4 separate regions of the Homo sapiens genome follow, and all the other regions are linked to region 1. Evidence: promoter capture Hi-C in human tissues and cell types (Jung and others, 2019). All regions are on one chromosome and are shown on one strand. The core of a region is centred on a gene start or on the middle of the fragment in contact, and the rest is flanking DNA. Distances in the headings are between cores, read along the strand shown.

Region 1 (2,903 bases), core at 173-2,672:
CAATACTCCGCCCTTTCCCCTTTAAATCTGGGGCCCTCAAAATCATTTTTGGAGAAAGGCGTAGACCTGTCTCCTGGGTGCGTCCTTAACTTTGGCAAATAAATCTCCTAAAATGATTAGAGACTTGTCTCGTCGTTTTCTTCGATTGACAATATATACACACATACATACGCATACACACACACATATATACGCGCACGCACATGCACACATATACATGTCCACACACATGCACACACACGTACATATGCACACATACACATGTACACATCCACACGCGCCCACACACACACACACACACAGACGTGTCTCACACCACAGCAGCCGCCTCGGGGGAGTCACAGCCCACGCATCCCCAACACTGCGGTCGCGCTCACTTCTCTTTCCACGCCCGGGGGGAGCAGCTTCCCCGCTGGGCCACGCTGACTCTGGGGAGGCGGGCGGGGCGAGACCACTTCTGGGGAGGACGCCCAATCTGGGGACTTTCTCTAGGTGCCCGGGGAGAAGGCGGCGCAGCAGCAAAGCCCTGGAGGGCCCAGTGGCGGAAACAGACGGACCCCTCGCAGCCTCCCGCCGACAGCGGCCCTGCCCAGGTCTCCAGGCTTCGATGCCTTCGTTGCTTTGTGCGGCGCACCCGCCTACGTCAGTTCCCAGTATTTAAACAAAACGTGTTCCTAGCTACGCAGCGCCAGGCAACCAGGCGGTTCCCACGCTTCCCCGAGTGGCACACCCTCCGCGCAGCCCACGCGGCCTCCCCACGCCCAGCTCCCGCCGGCCCCGCCTCGCGTCGTCCTTCGCCCCGCCCCCGTTGCCGCCCCCCCCGCCCGCACACTGCCCACCTGGCGTTGTCTTCACCCCGCTTACACGCCGCTCGCTTCGCTCTGGTAGTCGCCCACCTCGCGCTGCCCTTCTCGCTTCAGTCTTCGCCCTGCCCACCCACCGCCCACCTCGCGCCAGTCTTCGCCCCGCCCATTCACCGCCCGCCTCGCGTCAGTCTTCGCCCCGCCCAACCACCGCCCGCTTCGCGTCGGTCTTCACCCCGCCCACTCGCCGTTCGCCTCGCGCCTTCGCCCCTCCGCCGTTGTCGCCCCGCCCCTTCTTGCGTCCAGTCTTTGCCCCGTCCCTCGCCGTCGCCCCGTCCACACGCCGTCAGCTTCGCGTCTGTCCTCGCCCCGCCCACCTACCGCCCCCCTCGGGCCTTCGCCCCTCCGCCGTCGTTGCCCCGCCCGCCTTGCACCCCGTCTTCGTCCCGCCCCGCGCCGTGGCCCCGCCCACACGCCGTCAGCTTCGCGTCTGTCCTCGCCCCGCCCTGCATCATCGCCCCGCCCTGCATCATCGCCCCGCCCACACGCCGCCTGCCAGGCGTGAGTCTTCCTCCCGCTCTGCGCCGTCGCCCCGCCCACACGCCGCCACCCTCGCGTCAGTTGTCGCTCCGCGCCTGCGCCCGTTGTCTCCCTGCTCGCTCCGGGTCCCGGCGCCGCGCCATGTGGGCTGCGGCGGGCGGGCTGTGGCGCTCCCGCGCGGGTCTCCGGGCCCTGTTCCGTAGCCGCGATGCTGCGCTATTTCCAGGCTGCGAGCGGGGACTTCACTGCTCTGCTGTCTCCTGCAAGAACTGGCTCAAGAAATTTGCCTCGAAAACCAAGTAATGCGGCGGGGGCGGTGTCCCTGGGCGCGGTATTCCCTAGGGGGCGGTGTCCCCGGGTTGCGGTGTCCGCTCATCCGCGTTCTTGCGCCCATGCGGCCTAGCTCGCCAGTTCCTGCCTCCTGGGGTCTGCAGCAGTTCTAGCTCTCACTGTCAGCATTTGCAGCTTTTGTGTTCGTGGACGTGTGTCGGGTTAAGAAAACAAAGTGACAATGTGTGTTTATTTTGATTCTTGTCACCAGACGTATTTTTCAGAAGATTAGTTTCAGAAAATGAGGAAAAATGAAAAAATATAAGAATTTCCTTGCTAATGTTGACTTTCTGTGTGAATTTGAAGACTAAAGCTTGTCATGATAATTAGTGTTTTTAAATTATGAAAGATAAGTACAATAAAATACATTGACTTTTCACACTGCTTTTAGTTCTTCTAAGTATGGTAGGTGGTTGTATGTTTTCTACTTTAATACACTACTTTTAAAGACAGTTTTAGACCCTGCAGAAAAATTGCAAAAATAGTACCGCGTTCCTGTGTCCTGGCACCCAGCTCCCCCTGTGTTAGCGTCGGACTTTAGCTTCCAACGTGTTCCAGTTAATGAGCCGATATTGATAAGAGTGTTGCTAACTGAAGCTCATACTTTATTCACTTTTCCTTGGTTCTGCCTGCTGTCCCTTCCTGTCCCAGGTGCCCACCCAAGGTCCACGTTACATTGAATTGTCTTGTTTCCTTAGGCTGGGGTAGTGTCCCAGACTGTCCCTGGTTTTGATGGCTGTGCCAGTTTTGAGGGGTACTGGTCAGGTGCTTTGCAGGATGCCTCTCTGTTGGAATGTGCCTGTTTTTTTAATGCTTAGACGTGGATTATGGCTTTTGGGGAGGAAGACTACAGAGGTAAAGGCCATTCTCATCGCACCGTATCCAGGGTCCACGCTGGCCGTGATCCCCTGCATGAGGTGCTTGCCAGGTTTCTCTACCGTAAAGTTACTCTTTTTGCCCCCTTTCCTTACTGTACTCTGGGAGAAAGTCGCTGTGTGCAGCCCATGCCTAATGAGTGGGGAATTTTGCTCATAAGTGGTTTGCATTCTGCACAAGGGATATGTCTCTTCACCCCATGTATTAATTCATTCATATCACCAAGAACTCATGGGTTATAATCCCGTGTTACTTAGTTTTGTTCGAATGTTTCCAGCTCAGGCCCTTAGGAGCTCACTAAGCTCCTATGTCCTGTTTGCATACCCTGTCATTGTGGGGTTTTGCTGGGTTCTG
Region 2 (2,787 bases), core at 1-2,500, 59 kb before region 1:
TCCACCATCTCCTGCTTGTCCTCCATGGCCCAGTTAATCTTGTTGTTGTTGCCAGTCCCCAAGTCAATCATGATGTGCTTGTTCCTGCAACGAGAAACAAGGGCATCCATTCTCATAGAAGTCTCTTTAAAAAAGAATTCCTTGAAAACAATGCCGTATTTTTCCCACTGTGACAAGCTCTTGTTAACATCACTGAAGAACGCATAAAATCGAGAGTGTATGCCATGATGCAGGAGAATACAGGAAGCAGCTAAATGTGTTTTTAAAGATGCAATGCATTGTCCACCATGCTCTTTCCTGCATTTTTCTGTATTTATTTAGGACAGTTATTCTAAGGGGAAATTAAAAGGTCAAAGGAGGGCAGGCGCAGTGGCTCATGCCTGTAATCCCAACTCTATGGGAGGCTGAGGCAGGAGGATCACTTGAGGCCCGGAGTCCGAGATCAACATGGATAACAAAATGAGACCCCCATCTAATTTGTACTAATTTACCTGATAAAAGCAATGTGTAAGTTTTTCACAGTGCTCTTATGAGCAATGACATAAATTGTATTAAAAGCCCTTCAACTATGAAATGAAGATGACATTTTGCATGTTTATGGTTAGGGAAGTAGATAATTCTTTACTTATCTTTCAAGAGACTAGTTCTTTTCCTCATGAATACTCATGTGCACTTTACAAGATAAGGATATTAACCCTTTGTTGTACTGGCATAAATTTATCCTGGTTTGTTGAAGTTTCTTTTTGAGATGGGGTCTCACTGTCATCTAGGCTAGGGCATAGTGGCAAAATCAACCTCCTGGCCCAAATGATCCTCCCACCTCAGCCCTCTAAGTAACTGGGACCACAGGCACGAGCCACCACACCCAGATAAATTTCTAGTTTTTTGTAAAGATGGGGTGTCCCCATGTTGGCCAGGCTGGTCTCAAACTCATGGCCTCAAGTGATCCTCCCACCTCGGCCTCCCAAAGTGCTGGGATTACAAACGTGAGCCACTGTGCCGGCCTGATTATTTTTCTTAGAGATGCGAGCTATGTTGCTAAGGCCGGACTCAAACCCCTAGCTCCAGTCCCACCCCGGCCTGCAGAGTGGCTGGGCTGCAGGCATACCCCACCTAAAGACTGTTTTTTAACGTTCACTTCCACAAGATCATGCATTTGGCTTCCACCTACTATTCCGTAGAAAGTATTCCCCGTGAAGTCTCTGGTTCAGGAGAGGCAAATCTGATCAGGGTCTGGAGCCCACCTCTGGCCGCCCTCTCATTCTCCATGCTGCAGGCAGGCCCTACATGCAGCATGCACCAAGCTCCTTCTACAATGACTGGGGGCTGCCCGTAGCACCCTCCCTGCAGCCCTATCTGACCTGGGTGTACTTCTTCGGTATTTATATCTCATAAACATCTGCCTCCTTTCACTTCTTCAGAACCCCCTGCTAATTTACTCAGCTGTTTCTATCAGACAACGTCCTATGAGAGTGGGAATCCTGTCTTATCTGACATTAGGCTCCACCACTAGACCACAAACCTGGTGGGGGCTCAAGATATATGTTTGGTGCATAAGTTAACTAAAGTACCGTTTGTCTTAAAATTCTAAATCACAGAAACAGCAGAAGGAAGTTTCATCTCCTTTTCTGAGTACAGCATCAGTCCTAAAAATATCAAACTACACTAAGTAGGCTGCTCCCGCCACCCAAGGCTGTTGCCTGCAGCCTCCTTGCCCCTCACAGCATCTCCAGCCCCAGGCTGGCCTCCACTGCACGCTGTGGGGGGCAGAGACCTAAGACGGCCCTCCCTGTTCTCACCTGAAGAATTCTGAGGGGCAAAATAGAAAAGGCCTCTATTGCCTCGAACAGGCTGTTAACAGAAATATGGACTTCAGGAACACCTGGTGTGGGCTTGGAAGGAAGTGAGGAGTGTGTTACTGGGAAACGGAGAAAAGGGGACCCCCGTTACAGAGTGGCCGAGGAACAGGGACACGGGGTCCGCAGTTATAGGAAGTCAGAGCTCAAAAGCAACACACTCGGGATATTTAGCTGCGGAAACTTCCAAGCAAAGTCTCGGAGGTGCTGCCTTCAAGAGAGGAAAGAGGCAAATTAGTGTAAGAACTGTTAACAAAAGGAATAAATTCTTTAGCCTCTCCGGATGGCCAAAGGGGCTGAAATTCAGAAATGGCTGCTGAACACACAGTAGAGAAAAGGATGAGGGTCAGCCACGCAACCTTTGCTGAAACCTAGGAAAGATGAAAAGTTCACAAGAAATGCAGGGTGCACCTCACAGATCTTCTCAACCTAACAGGAGGCACCTAGGAAGCCAAGGGCGTGTCCAGGGGAGCGTATCCCGACGCCCAGAACCACGGCAGTGCCTCACGCTTTGGCAGCCTGAGGCGGGAGGATGGCTCGAAGCCAGGAGTTCAAGCTTGCTGTGATGGTGCCACTGCACTCCACCCTGGGTGAGAGTGAGACTCCATCTCAATAAATAAATAAAACAAGGTCACTATCCTGGATTATTTGGGCAAGTCTAATCTTATCACAGTCCTCTAAAACCAGAGCATTTTCTCAGGCAGAACTTTTCAGGTCAGAGAACCTGTGTGAAAAGTTCTCAATGTGCCGGCATGCCAGTGCTGGCTTTGAGGGTAACTGGGTCTCTGGCAGCAGAGTGGCCTCAGGTAACAGCAGCAAGGAAGCAGATCTCAGACCCACCACCACGAAGAGCCAGACTCGGCCCACAACCCAAACAAGCCCCTCAAACACTCCAGATAAGCACCCAGCCCATGGTTCAGACCTTGTGAGA
Region 3 (2,815 bases), core at 268-2,767, 51 kb after region 1:
TGAAAGCCAGTGCTCTTTTCCCACCTGAGTGGATCAGCCTCCCCTTGTGGAAGACTTTGTAATGTTCTCATTGAGGCAATTAGCTTGCAAGAGCAGGTCATTCTCAAAGCAAACCCAAAACCTCTTGCTGCCTCCAGACCCATCACCACAGTCAGATCCCTGCACACCAAGGGGGATGAATGCGAAATCTGACTGGGGGAAAGAGGCTTATACAACATTTTTTCCTGGCCAGGTGCATTGGCTCATGCCTATAATCCTAGCACTTTGGAAGGCTGAGGGGGAAGATTGCTTGGGCCCAGAAATTAAAGACAAGCCAGAGGAACAAAGGGAGATCCCATCTCTACATGTAACTTAAAAATTAGTCAGGTGTGGTGGTGCACACCTGTGCTTCCAGCTACTCAGGAGGCTGAGGCAGGAGGATTGCCAGAGCCCAGGAGGTCGAGGCTGCAGTGAGCCATGATCATGCCACTGCACTCCAGCCTGGGTGACAGAGCAAGACCCTATCTCAAAAAACAAAAACAAAAAAAATGATTCTTCCTAGTTATCAGTAGAAACATGAGTAAAGTGTGTAAAAATGAATTTTATTGGTATTGGAGAAGGAGGAAAACTGCTAGATTGGGCTGAATTTATTGATACACGTGTTCTTGGCAGATATTCTGGACTCCATGTGTTAGTGTGAGTAGTTGGGAAGACTGTTTGCTTAGTTAGTTGATGGGCCTGGAGATGTGGTTTGGATCTGTGTTTCTGCCCAACTCTCTTGTTGAATTTTAATCCCAAATGTTGGAGGTGGGGCCTGGTGGGAGGTGATTGGATCATGGGGGTGGATTTCTCATGAACGGGTTAGCACCATCCCCTCGGCACTGTACTCATGATGGTGAGTACTCACGAGATCTTGTTGTTTAAAAGTGTATAGCACCTCCCCCTTGCTCTCTCTCTTGTTCCTGCTCTGTAAGACGTTCCTGCTCCCCCTTCACCTTCCGCCATGATTGTAAGTTTTCTGAGGCCTCCCCAGAAGCCAAGCAAATGCCAGCATTGTGCTTCCTGTACAGCCTGCAGAACCATGAGCCAATTAAACTTATTTTCTTTATAAATTATCCAGTCTCAGGTATTTCTTTAGAGCAATGTGAGAAAGGACTAATACACCTGGCACTGGCATCCTTTGTTCTTGGCAGCACTGCTTCTAAAGAGCAGTGAGCACTTAGGACCCCTCCTGGGAGTAGAAGTTCCCATCCATCCATTGCTTAGGAAAAGCAACGGGTCAGGCCCTCACTCACTCTCTAGAACAGACTACAAACATGCAAATTAGAATTCTTTTAGAAAAACATAGCTGGAGTAGTTTGTGGCCACATTAAATGAAGTTGAGATCCATCACTTGATTTAATGTACAGGAAAGAATTTAAAGGCTTAAGGAGATAGAAATGATGTTGATTTATCAAGTGAGTCCTGCTCAAGCATCTTCTCACTAGGTTCTGCTAAGGGAGTATTGAGCACCATCTTTATGAAAGCATGGAGAAACATACTGATATGGTTTGGCTGTGTGTCCCCACCCAAATTTCATGTTGCATTGTAATCCCCAGTGTTAGGGGAGGGACCTGGTGGGAGGTGACTGGATCATGAGGGCAGATGTCCCCCTTGCCGTTCTCATGATAGTGAGTGAGTTCTCATGAGAGCTGGTTGTTTAAAAATGTGTAGGGTTTCCTTCTTTGCTCTTCCTCCTGTTGTCATGTGATGATGTGCTTGCTTCCCCTTCGCCTTTTGCCATGATTGTAACTTTCCTGAGGCCCCCAACCCCAGCCATGCCTCCTGTACAACCTGTGGAACTGTGAGCCAATTAAACCTTTTTTCTTTATAAACCACCCAGTTTCAGGTAGTTCTTTATAGCAATATGAGAACAGACTAACTCAAATATTAATGAAGGGAGCACTGGTATCCTTGCAGAACTCATATAAACCACTTCTGCTTCATAAGGGACTACTGCTGCACATGCCCAATTTGACACCTCCCCTGCCCCAGCCTGCAGTGGTTCTCTGGTGAGCATCCCTGATCCAGCATTCCAGAGCTAAGCCTAGCTAGTGCTTCCTGATTGAGTACGAAGAGCTCTGGAGAAAGGTGACTCATTTCATGTGTAACTACAAGGCAGCAAAGCTTCTCTGCACACACGAAATGAAGAAAAAAATAACATTTCTTTGAGATGCAAGTGAACTACCAGCAAATCTAAGGAATGTGTGTGTGTAGCCGCAGACAGCAGCATACCTGTCTTTACGTATGCTAACCCTTTGCCTTGAAGGCATTTATTCTAGTCTGATGGTCTAAAACCCTATTTCTTTTTCAAGATTCAGGTCTGGTCTCATCTTCTTTAGGAAAAGTTTTCCTATTTTTTTTCCCCTCCCCATCCTGCTTCTCCTAGAAGATCCAGTATAAACATCTATTGCTTGTTGTCAGCATGAATTCTCTTGTCTGTCCTTCTCACTGACTGCCTTCTCTATAACAAGGAGCAGTGATGCTCAATAATTGTGAGTTGAATGCGTAACAAGATGTGACAAAATCTCTATTACAAAAAGGTGAAAAAGTCAGCATAAAAGGCATTGTTTTTGTTTCACTTTACTATTTGGATGAGATGTTCAGATATAAACTATCTGAAAGATTACATAATTTATTAGGAGCTAATAAACAAGGATTACTGCAAAGGGGATAAAAAGAAAATAAAGGAAAGAGAAAGTTTCTATTTAATTCCATTTTAAATCTTCTAATCTGCTTTCCTACTCTGACCTAATTTATAGTAATGTAGCCTCAGCGTAAAGACAATCATATCAAA
Region 4 (3,185 bases), core at 176-2,675, 34 kb after region 1:
GGAAAATGGAGAGAAGACAGAGAGGCGTAGGCACTGAAGGCTGCAGCTGTGATTGAGGATCACGACGCCTGTTGGGGCTGCTCACCTGCCTAGGCCTGGGTGAGGAGGTGCTGGGGCCTGGCTGCACACACGTTCCTGCCCCAGAACTCAGTTGGGGGCTCGGAGCAGGAGAAGCTGCACACGGTGAGTGTGTGGGGCGCAGAAGCCCGTCTGCAGAGGTTCCACACCATGCAGAAAGTGGCCAGTGAAAGACAAGGAGGTGTTCCCGGGAGTGGAAGGGCTGGGGCCTGGAGAAAGGGGAGATGGGAGGAGTTGGGGGCTACAGAGGACACCACCCCTGGAGCTGGCAAGCATGGCAGGAAGGGGAGAGTTGAGCCGAGAAGGGCGGCCAGGGCAAGACGATGACCTGGAGTGGGGGCCCCAGAGGTCCTGCTCAGGGGCCTGCAGACCAGTATGCCTGGAAGATTCTGCAGGCCGATTATGAGGCCCACCAAGGTAGGCAGCCCCCTTCCAGGGCCGTCCTTCAAGCTTGGTAACTGTGTGGGAACAAACAAGACCTGTTGGGTGTCCAGTTCTGCTCTTGCTGCAATTCTGAAAGTCGACCATTTAAAGACTGTTATATAAACATAATCTTTTAATGAGAAATACTTCCCTTGTATTGTTTTTTTGAACTCTTGACTTAGTGTAGTATAGGATCTGGAAATAAGAAAACTGGATATCTCGGAAGAGAAATATAACAGCTTGTCTGTTTTCTTCTATTGCACAACTTAAATATGCTACAGTTAAGTGGGTCAAAATCTACCTGGAGGTGAAAGCTGGGTGGATGGGGGTCCATTCCTCTGTGAACTGGGGATGGCAACGCAGTCTCCAAAGGGTAAGAGCAAACGGACAGGCCTGGAGGGCGCAGCTCAGATGCACCCGTTGGCAAATGGACAGGCCTGGAGGGCGCAGCTCAGATGCACCCGTTGGCAAATGGACAGGCCTGGAGGACCCAGCTCAGATGCGCCCGTTGGCAAACGGACAGGCCTGGAGGGTGCAGCTCAGATGTACCTGTTGGGCTTTGGCTGTTTTTGTTGCACACAAAGGTCTGGGAGGAGCACAGAACCCTCCCTGAGGATGAGATTATGGAGGTTGTAGCGTTGAGGAGGTTCAGGTGCTGCCTTATATACTTTTATGTAGTGTGAATTTTTCAAGAAAGGTATTGTTTTTGTAATGTAAGAAAAGATTCCATATTGAGGAGAGTAAGTAGATCTGACAGGTGTGCAGCCTTAGGCATTAGTTATTAAATACATATTCATTTAATTAAAACTCAAAAATTTAAATGTTTTCCTCCTCATTAGAATATGCCATTCCAAAATATCACCATATTATTCTATCTCCCAAGAACTCTGTCCTCAGTATGGCTCCCGGTAGAATGAGGGTGAGACGTTGAAATGTGGACGTATCATCACTATAAAAGTTACATGTGGCAAATGTAGTTTCTAATCCCTGCTTTTCTTTCATTTTCTTAGTTATTAGCATCATTCTCCCTGATGCTTCTCGATCACAGAAGTGGCCACTGTCTTACTGGATTAGGCTCTAATCCCCATGCCCTTGGCCAAGTCAGATTTACCCTTCGAGTTCACTGTTGCCTGTTGGGATGGCCCTGCCCTGGATCTGTGGAATGAGCAGCCGCTCCTGTTTGCACCAACTGAAATCCTCTCTTCTGCTTGAAATTTTTGGTAGCCTTGCTGGCAGCTCAGAATGAGGCTCAGTTAGGACGGGGAGCTCATGAACCCCAGGGTGCAAGTACTGGATGTGGTCCTAACTAGCAAGGGCTCCAGAAAGGGACACAGTGAAAGAAAAGGAAAAGGAGTTATTTTTCTGCTATTGGAGAGGTGACAAATAACATGTTTGAAAGCAGCGTTGTTGTGACATGCCCTTCTGCATTGCTGGCGGGTGGGGTGTCCTCCCTAGGGGAGTGGCCCGTGGTGTCTGCTGGAATCCCAAACACATTCGCCCTTTGACCCAGCCATACCCTTGTGGGGACTTACCCTGCACCCTATTCTCTGCGGGAACACAATGGGAATGAGGAAAAGTCACGGTTGTAACCAGAGCAGTATTGTGAAGATGAACCTTTTAAACAAAATTCTAAAATATTAAAATCAATATGAATACTCTGTAACTTCAGAGAATCAGGTCTGGAATAATAATATTAATAAGAGCGAATATCTAGTAAGGGCTGAATTCCCTGGGTGCCCAATATGGACTTAGTTGTGTCCCACTCAGCTAGATAGGCCCAGTACAGGAAATTTCTTTCTTTCAGAGCCTTTTAAACATCAGAATGGCATGTTTTTCTTAAATGGGCAGATCCTTCTATTCTCAAATTGCAAAGCAAAATGTAGATGGAATGAAAAATCTGTAAGGGGGGCAAACAGCATTCTGGTCATACCTCTTTTATTTTCATTTTTATTTTTATAACTATTGTTTTTATTAGAGACAGGGTCTCTCTGTGTTGCCCAGGCTGATCTTCAATTCCTGGCCTTAAGCAATCCACCCGCCTCAGCCTCTCAAAGTGCTGGGATTACAGGCGTGAGTCCCCGCACCCAGACTGTCTCTTTTATTTTGAATGCTAGGTTAGGGTGGCATTTGTAAATACCATGGTAAATTCCTTTCTCTTTTTCTCTTTCAAGGTGGATGAAGACCTGATCATTGAAGTTCACCAGTTATTTTTCTCAAGAATGTGAATAACAATGGGATTTGCACTCATTATATTTTTAGAATGGCTTCGCATAATTTTCAGTGAGTACTTTGGACTGTTCGTATATCGACTCTTTGCCTTAACAGCTTGGTTTGACTTAAGCCTACACTGGGTTTTTCTTTGATTTTGCTTGGGAATGGTTTGATAAAGGAAAATGGATGATTGTATAAAATAAAACTCAACATGGAATAAATAGTAACTAGAAGTGAGCAAAATACTTCTATAGAAATAAACATCTTAAGATGACTTTTTAAAAAATTATCAAGAGTATCATAAAATATAGCAGTACATTAGATAATTTGGGATAGTTTTTCTATGAACCCATGATTACGTAAAATTCTTGAAACCTCTAAAGAAATGTCCTATTTTTAGGTTGGGCGTGGTGGCTCACGTCTGAAATCCCAGCACTGTGGGAGGCAGAGGCGGGCAGATCACGAGGTCAGGA

What was found. The method cuts DNA at HindIII sites, captures the fragments that hold promoters and counts their contacts. A contact is called where the count stands out against the background at its distance.
Region 2: a fragment that was not itself captured here is called in contact with the fragment with the promoter of RBFA in region 1 in 2 of the 25 tissues and cell types used here (adrenal gland and dorsolateral prefrontal cortex).
Region 3: a contact is called between a fragment that was not itself captured here and the fragment with the promoter of RBFA in region 1, in 2 of the 25 tissues and cell types used here (IMR-90 fibroblasts and lymphoblastoid cells).
Region 4: a fragment that was not itself captured here is called in contact with the fragment with the promoter of RBFA in region 1 in 5 of the 25 tissues and cell types used here (dorsolateral prefrontal cortex, mesenchymal stem cells, mesendoderm cells and 2 more).

The regions. Positions count from the first base shown.
Region 1 is chr18:80,033,012-80,035,914 of GRCh38, forward strand. It overlaps RBFA (ribosome binding factor A), which reads left to right and starts at 1,423. Exons shown (of 7, transcript NM_024805.3): 1 at 1,423-1,642. The coding sequence starts at 1,485. It also overlaps a transcript of TXNL4A not described here. RefSeq lists silencers at 709-878, 910-1,066, 949-1,268, 1,279-1,358, 1,469-1,618. The HindIII fragment of the contact is 12,317 bases long and covers 1-2,903 here.
Region 2 is chr18:79,973,773-79,976,559 of GRCh38, forward strand. TXNL4A (thioredoxin like 4A) reads right to left here. Exons shown (of 3, transcript NM_006701.5): 3 at 1-84. Among named protein-coding and RNA genes, the nearest start is that of HSBP1L1, 11 kb to the left of the region's middle. The HindIII fragment of the contact is 3,685 bases long and covers 1-2,787 here.
Region 3 is chr18:80,084,410-80,087,224 of GRCh38, forward strand. No RefSeq gene overlaps it. Among named protein-coding and RNA genes, the nearest start is that of RBFADN, 19 kb to the left of the region's middle. The HindIII fragment of the contact is 9,158 bases long and covers 1-2,815 here.
Region 4 is chr18:80,067,126-80,070,310 of GRCh38, forward strand. It overlaps RBFADN (RBFA downstream neighbor), which reads left to right and starts at 131. Exons shown (of 4, transcript NR_103445.2): 1 at 131-183; 2 at 2,673-2,781. The HindIII fragment of the contact is 4,600 bases long and covers 1-3,185 here.